Linked DNA regions of Homo sapiens: region 2 is linked to region 1. Evidence: promoter capture Hi-C in 16 types of primary human blood cells and fetal thymus (Javierre and others, 2016). All regions are on one chromosome and are shown on one strand. The core of a region is centred on a gene start or on the middle of the fragment in contact, and the rest is flanking DNA. Distances in the headings are between cores, read along the strand shown. Region 1 holds the start of OR8K3 (olfactory receptor family 8 subfamily K member 3 (gene/pseudogene)). Region 2 has its middle 6.8 kb from the start of OR5T1.

Region 1 (7,660 bases), core at 3,589-6,088:
TGGATGTCTTCTAAACTTAAGCATAATTGATATATCTACTCATGTAAACAGAATGGGCTAACTGAAACAAAATCAGGTGCTAATCAGAATTTACCGATTATTGAGCTACAAAGTATGTTCGGTTAACAGACTTCTATGTGGAAATAAAAACATTGATAAGGAAATAGTAGGATCCTAATATTCGGAATAGTAATTATTCGAGCACATCTGTAAGACTTAAAATCATCACATATCATCTAAACAACCAGTATTAAATGCAATGTCAGAATATACAAGCAAAAAGTATGAAGGCTAAAACAGAAGGAAAATGCTTATATACACAAAAACACACAAACAGAAACATACAGAAGCACACACACTGTAAATTTTATTCCAGTAGCAGATAAAAAACACTGGAATCCTCGTAACTCCCTTCTGTAATGACCACTGTTTCCTACTGCCACCCAGCATACTAGCTTTCCTTGTCTCCCTTTTTTCTTTGTCTATATCCATCGTGCACATTCTACTGTTATATAAAATGGACTTATTGTGAATACAATTCATCTATCCATCAAGGAAGGCAAAGATTTCTACTATTTTGTTTATTAATCTATGTATAGCAATTAGAAGAGCCTATCATGTATGAGACATATGTAAATATATGTTGAATCAGTTATGCTTGTTATGTCTTCTGGAAGTATGCAGAGCAAAAATTCATGCCCATAACCTAATTTATAGGAATCATATTGTACAAAATTTAAACAAAAATATTACATAAGTTATTCCATGTCCTTCGTAGGGCATATTTTACATCTTTGTTTCGTAAACTATAGATCAAGGGATTCAACATGGGGATAACCAGGGTGTAAAATATGGAAGCCACTTTATCAGTGTCAAAGGAATGACTGGACTTGGGCTGCACGTACATGAAAAGCAAAGTCCCATAGAACACTATGACCACTGTCAGGTGGGCTCCACAGGTAGAAAAAGCCTTTTGTCTGCCAGCAGAATTCATCCTGAGAATGGCTACAAGGATGAGCAGGTAAGATAAAAGAACTATCAGAAGAGATGAAATCAAATCAATAGCTGCAAAGATCAGAATTATCAATTCAATTTCATGTGTATTTGAACAAAGCAAAGGTAACAAAGGGAGACTGTCACAGTAGAAATGACTAATGACGTTGTAGCCACAGAAGGATAAAGTAAAAATCTTTATGGTGACTAGAAGAGAAATGAATGTGCAATAGAGGTAAGGGATTGCTACCAGCACCTGACATACCCTTCGTGACATGATTACTGTGTATAGCAGAGGGTTACAGATGGCCACATAGAGGTCGTAGGACATGGCTGAGAGAATAAAAAGTTCACTACCAATGAACACAAGAAAGAAAGCTAGCTGTGTTGCACAAAAATAATAAGAAATTATATTCTTATCCACAACAAAATTTACTAACATTTTGGGTCCCACAGTTGTTGAATAACCAAGATCCATGAAAGCCAGATGTCTGAGAAAAAAGTACATAGGGGTTTGCAACCTGGAGTCCAACTTGGTGAGGACAATCATGCCCAAATTGCCCATCACTGAGATCACATAGATCATGAGGAACAATGCAAATAATGGTGCCTGCAGCTCAGCGATATCTGTGATTCCCGTAAGAATGAATTCATTCACCGTTGTTAGATTGTGTTGTTCCATCCAGGTTCATCAGAAAACCTATTCTGATAGAGACATCGGCATTGTCAATAGCTTTCCTCTATCATCACCTGAGAAATTTTTTAGTATGCAAAGCTAACAGAAGATATACCTAAATTTCACAATTTGCGACATTTGAAAACATACCTCTCACAAATAAAAACATGTTTAAATAATTTAAGAAAGAGATAAGGCAGATCAGCAGTTTTCAGTTGCTTTTGATTTTACTCACCCAAAAACATTTTCTAATGTCTAGAGACATTTTATTTATCACAATTTGGAGGTGGGCCACTGTTGCATCTAAAGGTTAGAAGCCAGTAAGCTGCTAAACATTCCACTATAATCAATACTCAGCCCATCGCAATACCCAACCCCAAATATCAATAGTGCTAAGGTTGAGAAACTCTGATGAGATACATGAATAGACAGATGATAGATAGATAGTTAATGGGTAGATAGATAGATTATGGATGAACAGATAGAATCATATGAGAGAGAGAGAAAGAGATACAGATATTCATGTCTGTATAGATATATAAAGAAAAATTTTAAAGTTAAAAACATTGTTAATACCGTGGATATCTGATATATGAACAATTATTGTACTATGTTTTTAGAGCTTGGTCATATTTATAGATTAAAATTGTGACATAATACAATTTTAGTTATATAAAAAATTTCTGTCACAGATTCCAAAAATGCATAAAACCACCTGCTTCAAAACATCATCCTGTGAATACCCTTATCTCTTCGGGTGGTACAGCTGAGACTTTAATAGAGTTGACAGATATTAGGCATATGAGTAAGAGCAGCATAACAGATGACAGTGGCAATTATTTATATTTACAAAGCAAAAAATATCAGGAAATATATGGATATAGATATATTCTACACTATATCTTAATTTATGTCATATTTGAAAGGTTATTTTAGGCAAATAGTGTAAGTTATCTAAAACTGTTTGTTCTAATATCCAGAACCAACATGTCATTGCAGAATTGTTGGGAAGGATGACTGAAGATTAAGTGATTCAATGTGTCTTTGCTGCCTAGAAGTAGTTCTAAAACATCAAGTACATTGTGAGTTTTCTTCTTCTTGTTATTTGTTTTAATTGTGACAATGCCTTACTTGAAAGAGGTTTTTTTTACATGTGTACACATACATTATTCTGACTATGAATTAACTTCTTTGTTAGGACCATAATGATGCCTAGGGGAGTCACAGGTCAAGTAGGATGTAATACTTGCAACTTAGGGCAGTTCTTCTCCCCTCCCCCAATTCATGACTAAACTTGGGTAATTGGTATGCTATTGTTTTGGATTACTTATCTATTTTTCACAACGAATTTAATAACATTTTAAATAAATTATTTTTATATAAACTTTATTAAAACATTAATCTTCCCATAGTTTTATTCTCAATATAATTGAGAAATGCTAACTTGAATGTGAACGTTAAGTTTGTTTTATCATACAAAATCTTAGGGGAGTTTGAGGAAATCTGAACAAATTGGGAGAAAATGTGGTCCTTCATATTGGTTTTGTATAATGAAAATTAGTAAAAGCTACTTTTTGGGTAAAAGGATACTGTAGATTAAAGAAATGATTAAAAGTCACCTTGTTACACAATAACATAGAGACAAAATGAATACACTAAACATGAGATATACGTGGATTTCTGGCTGTGATTTAAAACTTTTCTGAACATGCAAGCCACAGAAACTAGGAAATATGGTATAGCACATAATACAAATTAACATATGTATAATCGAATAAATATATATCTAAATATCCCCCAATAACCCACAGATTTAAAATATAGTAGAGCAGGAGATGGAGGGCATGATAACCTAAGATAATCATTATTAGTTAAAAAAAATCGTAAGCCCCAATGTTTTTTGAAAAAAGAAAAGAAAGAAAATAGTTTTTACAATGAAAATTATAGTGACAGCAATCTCAGAGTGAGCTATGAAAAAATAAAGACAAGCAATTGTGTTACATTAAATATAAAGATGATTACATATTATTTGAACTTAATTTTTTAAATAAAATTATGACCTACTCCTATCCTACCCTGACTCAATGAACACACCTTTCTCATATTAGATATATGGTAATGTGTGGCAGTAGATGGAAAAGTTAGATAAATATCTTTAGTAAATAAGATGATGAGCAGCATAAATCCTGTATTTTGTTTGCTTGTTTTGTACAGTTTGGCAATTTAGAAAGGCAAATAATATCATGGATAAGTACCTGTTTTCTTGTTAGGTAAGGAAATATAAATGAGGTTCCTTTCACCATCTTTGGAGTTCTGTGGAAAGAACCAGATTGCTTTTTTTCATATTTTGCTGTCTTTGTTGAATATCAATTGCATTTTTTAAAGCTACAATCTTTGAGAAAATAATATCTGCTTTTGTCAACTCTTAGTGGAAATTGAAGTACTTTCTGAAAATTGTATTGTTCCCTAAAACTGGGTACTTAACAGTCTCCTAATTTTATTTTCTTCTATTTTAAAATGTTTTTTTTTTCTGTGCCTATGATTACCCAAAAAGCCTCATAATTTTTAATAATGCTTTTCACATTCGAATGTAAGGTAGCAACCCCCTTTTTGACTCACCAAGCAGTGAGAAAACAATCATATCTACACATTTATTTGAATAATCATTCAGTGTTAAATTATTGTTAAGGGGTCTGAGAGCCTAGAGCATCTAAATAACAAGTATTTGGAAGGACATGAACATGACTGACCAAATAGTTGCAGTTTCTCCATTCTTTCATTAAAAATATATTTATCTCCTTGTCATTGTGCTTTATTTTCTCCAAGTTTTGGCCTCAATTAGAGAAAAATATGTAAAATGAATACTTTAGAAACAATATCATGATAATGTTTCAAAGATGCTTATAGCATTCAGCCTGTGAAACCATGTAAAATACTTAAAAAGCATATGAAAAATGGAGCACCGTTATTTCTGCTTAGGCATTATTGAGTAACAGAAATCCCGGAGAAATGAATCAGAAATTGTCACACTTTACTATGGTTATGTCATCAAATTAAAGTGGCAGTTTTCCAATGTCACTGAAGCATTATAGATATCTGTAACATATGACACCACAAGAAACATTCTTACTTTTTTTTTTTTTACCTGTAAGGAAGCCTCTGTCTTGACTCCTCCATGTGTCTCTCACATGGCACAGTGAGAACAATTTATGCATTTTTTAATCTTTTGAGACTCTCCCTGAGGAGATGGCAGGCAATTTATTGATAATTCCTAAAGCATTTGAGAGCATAACAAAATGTTTGAGGCTGTCCATTAGTTGTAGAAGACAGTTTGTATTCACTAGTGTATCAGAGTTCTCCAGAAAAACAGTACTAAGAAGAGATAGTTAGATGAGAGATGATAGATAGATAGATAGATGATAGATAGATAGATAGATAGATAGATAGATAGATAGATAATAGAGATTTATTATGAATTGTTTTATGCAATTATGTAGGCTGAGGATTCCTGTGATTTGCTGTCTGCAAACTTCAAGAAAGCTGGTGGTATAGATTCAGTTCAAACTTGAAATATTGGGAGCCAGGGGAGCCAAGGGTGTACATCATAGTCTGAATTCGAAGGCTCTGGAATCTGGGATGTCAATGTCTGATGGCAGGAAGCGAAGGATGTCCTAGCTTAAGCAGGGAGTGAACTCACCCTTCCTCTGTCTTTTTGTTTTATTCAAGGCCTCAATTGATTGCACTGATACCCACCTATATTGGTGAGGATGATAGTTACTCTGTCTAACAATCGTAGTCTCTTCCAGGAGTATCCTCACAGGCACACCCAGAAATAATGTTTGCCAGCTATCTGGGCATCATATAGCCTAGTTAAGTCAACACTTTAATCGTCATTACTCCACCCCTTGTCAGCTTGGCAAACATAAGCATGTACTTAAACCATACTTAGTCTCTCTAAACATAGACAATAACAAGGTCATAGTTTTGCTTTACATGACACAACTATCCGGCATATAAATAAAAACTCACTAATCCTTTATTCCAATCAGGACATATATTCTTTGAGTGATACTGACTCTTCTCCTGATTTTCTCAGAGTAAAATTCTACAGTGTAAAAGTAACAATATTTAAATATTGATGTAAAGTCCATATATCATATTTATATAATAAGGTAATAAAAAATGGAATAAAGCATCTTAATAAATACACAGACATATTTATAATAAAATTAGGATGGAATTCTCATTACAATTACAGTCCTCATTTCTGAACTGGCCACATGATTATAGCTGGTATTTATAACCGTCTTCTTCTTCTTTCCATACTCTATTCCTTTTGTCTTTAGCAAGCACCTTAGTTGGCCATGGTTCTTTTTTCCTTGTGAAGTGGCCCAAACCTTTATTCCTGAAGAATGTGGGCCATTAGTAGTTCTGGCTAGTTTGGGCTATTACAGTTTTCCGTATATTATTATTACAGTTTTTCTTATTAATAAAAGATGTCCTAAGGAATGTCCCATATTCCAGGCTTATTCTTCCTTGTATTGTGAAGTAATAGCCCAATTTCCCCTGGAAAGTCAGGATCAAGTGTGATAACTTCCTGTTTTGTCTATTGATTCAGTTGCATGAGGAGCTCAAAATGGCTGGGTAAGAGTCTTAACTTCCAATTCAATAGAATTATTGCTATTTCTCTAGGTGGAAGCATTCATTCCTCTGTGACTAAGACCTGTAGGTCAGTAAAGCTTAAAGTCAATGGAGCAGGAAGCAGAAATTTTGACAGTGGGTCACTAGGGTTAATAGTGAGTGGTGTCTTGAATGTTAAATGACGAGTTAATGGGTGCAACACACCAACATGGCACATGTATACATATGTAACTAACCTGCACATTGCGCACATGTACCCTAAAACTTAAAGGATAATAAAAAAATTAAAAAATTAAAAAAAATAGTGAGTGGTGTCACTCATACTTCCATCTCTTCATTCCTAGGCTACTAGATCCAGTCTATGGCAAAAAAACAGCACAATATACTGGAGACTAATTCAAAGCATATATAGCTTTCTTGCAAACTTTTCCCCAGCTATTCAAATTATTGCCATCTAGCTGAATTGTAATTAAAATTTCAAAGCCAGTTTCTTTGGGATGTTGGGCAGCATGGTGAGTATGACTAGTGAATTCCATGATCATGGACACATTGCTGCACTTCTTTATCTGTGAAGTGAGTTTCTTGATATATGTAATGCCATGTGGAATATCATGATGGTACATAAGGCATTCTATAACTTGGAAGGTAGTTTTGGCAGAATTGCTTGCAGAGAAGGAAAATCTGTATCCAGAGTAAGTATATATTGCACTAAGAACAAAATGCTGCTCTTAAATGTTGGAAACAGTGCAATGTAACCAAACTCCTGCCAGGCAGCTGGCTACTCCCATTGGGTAATGGTGCCATATTAGTGGCTCTGTGTTGTTCACTGCTGCTGGAAGATTGGACACTCAGCAGTGACTATGGCCAGGTTGGCCCTCATGAGTGGAAGTCCATGTTGCTGTGAGACCACACATAACCTATGTCCCTGCCACCATGTCCACTTTCTTTGTGAGCCCATTGGGTGATGACAGGGTGCCTGAAGAAAGAGGCTGGCTAGTATCCACAGAATGTGTCATACTATTAACTTGAATATTACAATCCTCCTCTGCTGAGGTCACCATTTGGTGAGCATTCACATGGGACACAAATATCTTCACGTTTTTTGCTCATTCAGAGAGTTATGGTCATACTTCTTCCCTAAATTTCTTTGTCATTAATTTTTCAATCATGTCCTCTCCACGTTTTTTACTATCTAGCCACACCACTTGCCACAGCCCCTGAATCCATATGTAATCATAATTATCGCATGTCTGTTCTCTCATGATCACTTTCTAAGCAAAGTGCATCACCAGGTGCACCACTCAAAGTTGTGCACAGTGAGAGTATTTCCCTTTACTTCTGTCCATCAGG
Region 2 (7,660 bases), core at 1,329-3,828, 33 kb after region 1:
ACAAGGCAATCTTAGGACACAGGTTCTTCTATGTTATTGCTCTATTATCTCCCTGATGTCTTCTTCTATGTTGTTGAAGAGAGTTAATCTAGTACTTTGCCCACATTCTAGTCTGAGAGAAAGGTGAGATTTTTTGACAGTAAGGAAGACAATTCCAAACGTTGTGTTCATATGGATGGTTTTTAGAACATATTCAATTTTTTAAGTAGACATAGGACTACCCTGGTTACCCCTTTCTTCTGATGTAAGCTTCTTTACATTTTTCATTTGTATTTTTCATTTAATTGTCAATTTTATTAGCAAAATGTTGTTTATAATGTTCTTATTTTCCTTGTCATATTTGTAGGGACCAGAGTAAAATACCTTATTTCATTCCTGATATTGGTTATATTTCTCTTCTGTCTTCTTAGTGTTGACCCTGGATTATAAAAACATGTTTTATGTATTATAGTTTACCTAAAATAATCTATATCTCAACTTTTCACATAAGACCTTTAGAGTAAAGTCAGATCTCTCCCATTCCTTTTGCTATATTTGTCATAAATTTTACATTTACCAAAATGTTTAAAGAAGAACTAATACCAATCCTACTTAACTATTCCAAAAACTAGAGGATGGGTACTTCCAAACTCATTCTACAAGTCCAGTATACCAAAACCAGACAGACCCATTGAAACAAACAAACAAACAAACAAAAAAGAAGCTATAGGTCAAATCCCTGATGAACATCAATACAAAAATTCTCAACAAACTACTAGCAGACCAATTTCAACAACGGTTTAAAAATATCATTGATTATGTTGAAGTGGGAATTATCCCAGGCATGCAAGTATTTTTTGATATACACAAATCAATCAAAGTGATACATGATATTGACAGAATGAAGGACCAAAAACATGAACATTTCAATTGATACTGAAAAAGGATTTGATAAAATTCAACATCCCTTCATGACAAAAACCCTCCAAAAACTGAGTATAAGAGGAACATAACTCTATATAATAAAAGCCATGTATGTCAGACCCACAACTAGTAACATACTGAATGGCAAAAAAAACTGAATGTTTTTCCTCTAAGATCTAGAACACGACAAGAATGCCCATGTTCAACATTATTATTTGAAATAGTACCGGAAGTCCTAACTGGAGAAATCAGACAATAGAAAGAAATAAAGAGGATTTAAATTGAAAAGAAAGGAGTCAAATTATTCTTATTTGCAGACGATATGACCTTATATTTGAAAAAACCTAGAGACTCCACCAGAAAACTAATTAAAAAGCTGATAACAAATTCAATAAAGTTGCAGGATAAAAAATCAACATAAAAAATTAGTAGCATTTTGAGGACTAAGCTCTAATTGTTTTATCTTGCCCACATTCTTATCTAAATGATCTGGGTAGTCATGTCCTAGAAACCATAGATTTTTCAGCAGATGGGTTTTATTTAACCCTATGTATCATAACTTACTTTCCAAACTGACTCTGGCATAACATTATGAAACAAGGAAGAAAATCAAAATATTTTACCCCAAAACATATGTCTTTGCCATATCTTGAAAGGCCCTGTAAAGCTGTCCTTAAAGGAATATTTCCATCTGTAAAGAATCTCTATTAACATAGATATATGTTTTTTCTTCCAGGCCCTCCCAATCCTAATGAGATAAATTAAAAGTCTAGCACCTTTTAAAGATCTAAATAGGAAACATTTGTCATCTATTGTCTCTAAGGGCAGACACTATAAGACTTCAAAAGAACCTTGGTCTCCACAATCTTTTATCTTAATCTGAACATTTCCTTTCTATGGATTCCAGATCTTTAGACAAACTCAACCAATTATCAACCAGAAAATGTTTAAATTTACCTATAGCCTGAAACCTGCTGCCTCCCACTGTTTGACTTGTCCCACCATTTTGGACCAAACCAATGTATTTCTTAAAAGTATTTGATTGATGTTTCATGCCTCCCTAAACTGTATAAAAACCAAACTCTGCCTTGACCACCTTGGGCACATGTTGTCAGGACCTCATGGGGGCTGTGTAATGGGCAATGGCCACCCATATTTGGCCCTGAATAAATCTCTTCAAATATTTTACAGAGTTTGACTCTTTCTTTTGACCATTTCTATACACTGCAAACTGAAAATATTGATGACAGGTCTCAGTCAATTTAGAAAGTTTATTTTGCCAAGGTTCAGGACACCCCTGTGACACAGACTCAGGAGGTACTGATGACATATGCCCAACGTGGTCAGGGTAAAACTTGGTTTTACACATTTTATGGATACAATGCATCAATCATATTTTTACATTGGTTCAATGTGGAAAAGTGGAACAACTTGAAGAAGGGGAAGGTCATAGATAGATTTAAAGATATTCTGATTGGTAATTGTCTAAAACAGTTATTATCAATAGAAAGGAATTTCTGGGTTAAGATAAGGAGTTGTGGAGACCAAGGTTTTATCATGCAGATGAAGCCTCCAGGTAGCAGGTTTAGAACAGATTGTAAATGTTACTTATCAGACCTACAGTCTGTGTTGATGTTAATACTGGAGGAGTATAGTGAGGCACATAGGACCCTCACTTACAGTCATGGCCTGATCCAGTCTTTGAGGTTAATTTTAGAGTGCCCTGGCCTAGGAGGGAGTCCATTCAGATGGTTGTGGGATGAGGAAGGGGATTTGAATTTTATTTTTGGATTACAATGTCAGTAGCAATCAATTCAAAAGTAAAAATAAAAAGTCTGCAATATTTACAAATAAAGTTAAATACTTAGGAATTAACTTAACCAAAGAAGTGAAAGAGCTGTACCATGCAAACTATAAAACATAAATGAAAGAAATTGAGGAGGACACATGATAAAAGAAAAACTTCAGCCAAATTAAATTTAAAGGAATTTTGTTAAGCAAAGAATGATTAGCAAATTGGGCAGTCACTGAAGCCAGAGTAGGCTCTGAGATTCCAGTGCAGCCACATGGTGGAAGATTTATGGATAGAAAAAGAAAATGACATACAGAAAACAAAAGTGAGGTATAGAAATAGCTGAATTGGTTATAGGTTGGTGTTTGCCATGTTTGAACATGGTTCAAACAGTTGGCTCCATTTGATTGGCCAAAACTTGGTGATTGGCACAGATGTAGGCTTCAGTCTGTTTACACCTCCACTTGTTCTAGTTTGTGATGTACAAAGAAACCTTTTGGCCAAAGTTAAAATACGTAATGAGGCAGCTTCAGGTTAAACTCGATTTAATAATTTCTCTCTTTGGTCATCTCAATTTTTAAAGGTGGACAAAAAGTTTAGTAATTGATGTCAGTTTCACCAGTATAAATGTACTTATTTGGGCTTGAAAGCCACTGGGAAATAGCAAAACAGTAGGTTTTGTAAGATGGGAACAGGGACTTCAGGTTATTTATTCATTTTTTTGAAAGGGTTAGAATAGAGGGTACCTCCTTATGCTGGAACATCCTTTTTACAGGAGAGAAAACAAAACCTGGTGTGTTCTAGGATCTAAGCGTATCCTTAAAGTCTTAGCTTAATTATGTCACATTTAGCATGAATGACTCCATTTTGGTTTAGTCTGGTCTGTTGGGGCCTAGTGCATAAGCTCAGTCCAAAACAATGACCGCTCATAATTTTGTTTAAAAATTTTCCACTTTTGTTCATGTTCTCAGGTGAGATTGCGACAAACACTTAGGGCCTAAGCACCACTCTCAGTTACCACCATTTTGGGTTTCCAGTCTCATCATGTCTCTCATAAGTTACGGTGCCCATATGGTCACACATTTCTTTCAGGTCTTGTCATTCCAGTTGAAGAGACACCATTTGACATTCTAAGGATGGCTCCATGCAAACATTTAAAATTTTTAAGATAATACAGTGCACCAGGGAAACTACTATTATCAGGAGGATAATACCAAGAGTTTGGAGTATGCTCCTTACCCAGGTTCCCCCTAAACCAAACCACCTAAAATCAAAAAGATAAAAGAATGAGCTAAAAAGTCTACTCACTTTACTAAGCAGTCTCTTTGTTAATCCCCTCTATAAGACCTGATGTGATATATTTCTCCATAGGCCACAAGTGCCAGCAGCTACACAGATACTTCTCTGTTTAGCCAGTAAGTAATGTAGAGCAATTCTATTATTTAGCATAACTTTTACAAGAGAATTTAAAGTCTGTTGTATAATCATCACCTATACAATAGAATCTGCTATAGAGCCTATCATGAGGGATACATTCCTAATCATTGCGTCTTTTACTTAAAACCATGGAAAAAGAGGACCTAACAAATGATGCCATTCTAGTAAAGGGCCTACTTTTAATGTTCTCTTTAACCTGTGAGGTAGGTTAAAAGGAGTGAACCAATGTTCTGTTTCTGACTGATTTTGAGGCAACATATGTACCATTAAAATTTCTCATCTACCTTGGGCCTTCGTTTTCCATCTATCAAGGTATTAGGTTATCCATGTATAAGGCTGGCTTCAAAATCCTTTACAAATAAAAGTATACCCCATGAGTGCACACAACATACTCCCATTTCACTTCTATTGTTCATAGAGACTTAAGCAAGGGAAAAAAAGATTCAAAGATAAGAGTCTCATGATAGTAGAGAAATCTTCATCTGTGATCTTGGGAAAAAGCTGTTCACATCAAAGATGCTATCTTCTTCTGTGGAGAAACATCCCTGGTTACCTTTACCTTAAGGGTTCCAAAGGGAAGTGTACAATTTCACTTGTGTGGACGGACCCTTCTGAGTTGTGAGATTTTGAACCCAAGATTCAAGGTATTGAAGTTTTGCTACAGTGTGGATGACAAGGGCAGTATTTCTCTGATGTTCTCAAAAGATCCAGTCTTTGGGTTCTAGATTGTAAAGGGGTTTATTGTCCTCAGTCAGCAAACTATAAAAAAGCTTTCTTTACCTGGTGAACATATACTGTAGCATAATAATCTACTGTTATAACATCAGCCCTCTTGTATGAGAAAACTTTTATACAACCAAAACCCATGCATTGAAAATGACAATTGTATGAAGTCCCTCTATAAATGTTTGAGTGATCCATCAGGTAGTGAAATGTACCTGAAGCTTTGATTGTTTTCCTAGGAATATGGGTTTGACAAACCAAACATTGGTCATAAACTATTTCAGCAATTTAGAAGTCACCACACCAATATATATTTAATTTGGATCATTTTATCTTTTGCATGATGAGTCACAGAATGCAGAACTCTTAACAACAAAGCTTTAGGGACTCAGGAAGGACAAGGTGGCTTTCCTGGTTCTCCACAAGTCCAGGCTTAACATTAAACTTGTGTCCTCTTGAATATCAGTTGTTTCTCCAATTTAGGTGCATAGCACTGATAACTGATGGGTTATCGTAAGTAAATTGACTCAGACCATGGAGTTCATTCAAACTGTATATCTAAACAATTGTAGTAATGGCTGATGTAGCATAAAAATCTGGCAAAGTATTTTCTTGCTATTCAATTATTCTTTGTTCTACTTGGGTTTGCAGTTTTATAAACCAGTTAGTCCTTTCATTAAAGTTGAGGAAATTCTCACCCAGTCCAAATGATATGATTCTAAAGTTATCAGAAAGCTGTATTTATTCAAGAATGAGTGCTTTTCAGGGTCCTTTCTATCCTTTCATGAACCTCCTAAAAGATACCATATTCTAGGATTTTGTGTGCTTGTGAGGTTTTCAGAAACTGCATCAGAATTAAACAATTAATCATGGAAATGACTTTAAATAGTCATAGTAACAGACAACTGACAAAAAAATTTGGTTACTTCTGTGTTCTAAAATAGCTTAAATAATGACCATAATTATGACTGATAGCCTACACTAAGACATATTCAAATTTTAGAAATTTCATCCATCAATGCATGTAAAATTCCATTGGTTTGATGTGGAAGGGTGGGACAACTTGAAGCAGGAGGTGGGGAGGGGTGGGACTTCCAGGTCATTGGTAGATTTGAGTAGATTCTGATTGGCAATTGGTTGAAAGAGTTGTTTTCTGTAGAAAGAAATGTCTGGATTAAGATAAGGGATTGTGCAGACCAAGGTTTTATCATGCAGTTGAAGCCTCCAAGTAGCAAGCTTAGAATAGATTGTAAATGTTTCTCATGAGACTTACAGTCTGTGTTGATGCTAGCACTGGAGGATTATAATGAGGCACATCAGATCCTACTTCCAGTCATGGCCTAATCTGGTCTTTCACATTAAATTTTAGAGTCCCCTGCCCGAGGAGGGAGTCCATTCAGATGGTTGTGGGGAAGGGTGGGGTGCGGGGGTTTGAATTTTATCTTTGGTTTACGATGCCAATAGCAATCAATCTGAAAAAGAAATTTAAAAATCTACAATATCCATAAATAAAGTTAAATACCTACGAATAACCAAAGAAGTGAAAGATCTGTACCATAAAAACTATAAAATGTTGATGAAATAAATTGAGTAGGACACATAAAATGGAAAGATATTCCATGTTCATGAACTGGAAAAATCAATATTGTTAAAATGCCTGGGCTACCAAAAGCAATCTATAGATTCAATGCAATTCCTATCAAAATACAAATACATTCTTTACAAAAATAAATAAGAACCTTAAAATTTATATGAAAACACAAAAGACCCAGAATAGCCAAAGCTATCATAAGCAAAGAGAAAAAAAAAATGGAGAAATAACATTGTAGGGTCCAGCCCCACAGGGTTGGTGGGTTTTCTCCTTGTGTGCAGAGATGAGAGAGCATAGAAATAAAGACACAAGACAAAGAGATAAAAGAAAAGACAGCTGGGCCTGGGGGACCACTACCACCAAGACACGGAGACTGGTAGTGGCTCTGAATGTCTGGCTGTGCTGTTATTTATTGGATACAAAGTAAAAGGGGCAGGGTAAAGAGTGTGAGTCATCTCTAATGGTAGGTAAGGTCATGTGGGTTACGTGTCCACTGGACAGGGGGCCCTTCCCTGCCTGGCAGCCAAGGCAGAGAGAGAGAGGGAGAGAGAGAGACAGCTTGCGCCATTATTTCTGCATATCAGAGACTTTTAGTACTTTCACTAATTTTGCTACTGTTATCTAAAAGGCAGAGCCAGGTGTACAGGGTGGAACATGAAGGCGGACTAGGAGCGTGACCACTGAAGCACAGTATCACAGGGAGACGGTTAGGCCTCAGGATAACTGTGGGCGGGCCTGACTCATGTCAGGCCCTCCACAAGAGGTGGAGGAGTAGAGTCTTCTCTAAACTCCCCCAGGGAAAGGGAGAATCCCTTTCCTGGTCAGCTAAGTAGCGGGTGTTTTTCCTTGACACTGAGGCTACCGCTAGACCATGGTCAGCTTGGCAACGGGCGTCTTCCCAGACGCTGGCATTACCGCTAGACCAAGGAGACCTCTGGTGACCCTGTCCAGGCAAAACAGAAGGCTCGCACTCTTGCCTTCTGGTCACTTCTCACTATGTCCCCTCAGCTCCTACCTCTGTATGGCCTGGTTTTTCCTAGGTTATGATTATAGAGCGAGGATTATTATAACATTGGAATAAAGAGTAATTGCTACAAACTAATGATTAATGATATTCATATATAATCATGTCTATGATCTAGATCTAGTATAACTCTTATTGTTTTATATATTTTATTATACTGGAACAGCTCGTGCCCTCGGTCTCTTGTCTC

The links. The method cuts DNA at HindIII sites, captures the fragments that hold promoters and counts their contacts. A CHiCAGO score of 5 or more calls a contact.
Region 2: a contact is called between a fragment that was not itself captured here and the fragment with the promoter of OR8K3 in region 1, in 1 of 17 cell types (neutrophils). The highest score is 5.2, in neutrophils.

Annotation. Positions count from the first base shown.
Region 1 is chr11:56,312,322-56,319,981 of GRCh38, reverse strand. OR8K3 (olfactory receptor family 8 subfamily K member 3 (gene/pseudogene)) reads right to left here and starts at 4,838. Exons shown (of 3, transcript NM_001005202.2): 1 at 4,815-4,838; 2 at 3,925-3,982; 3 at 1-1,698. The coding sequence starts at 1,675. The coding sequence ends at 737. The HindIII fragment of the contact is 10,208 bases long and covers 1-6,410 here.
Region 2 is chr11:56,277,132-56,284,791 of GRCh38, reverse strand. No RefSeq gene overlaps it. Among named protein-coding and RNA genes, the nearest start is that of OR5T1, 6.8 kb to the right of the region's middle. RefSeq lists an enhancer at 1,493-1,994. The HindIII fragment of the contact is 4,653 bases long and covers 252-4,904 here.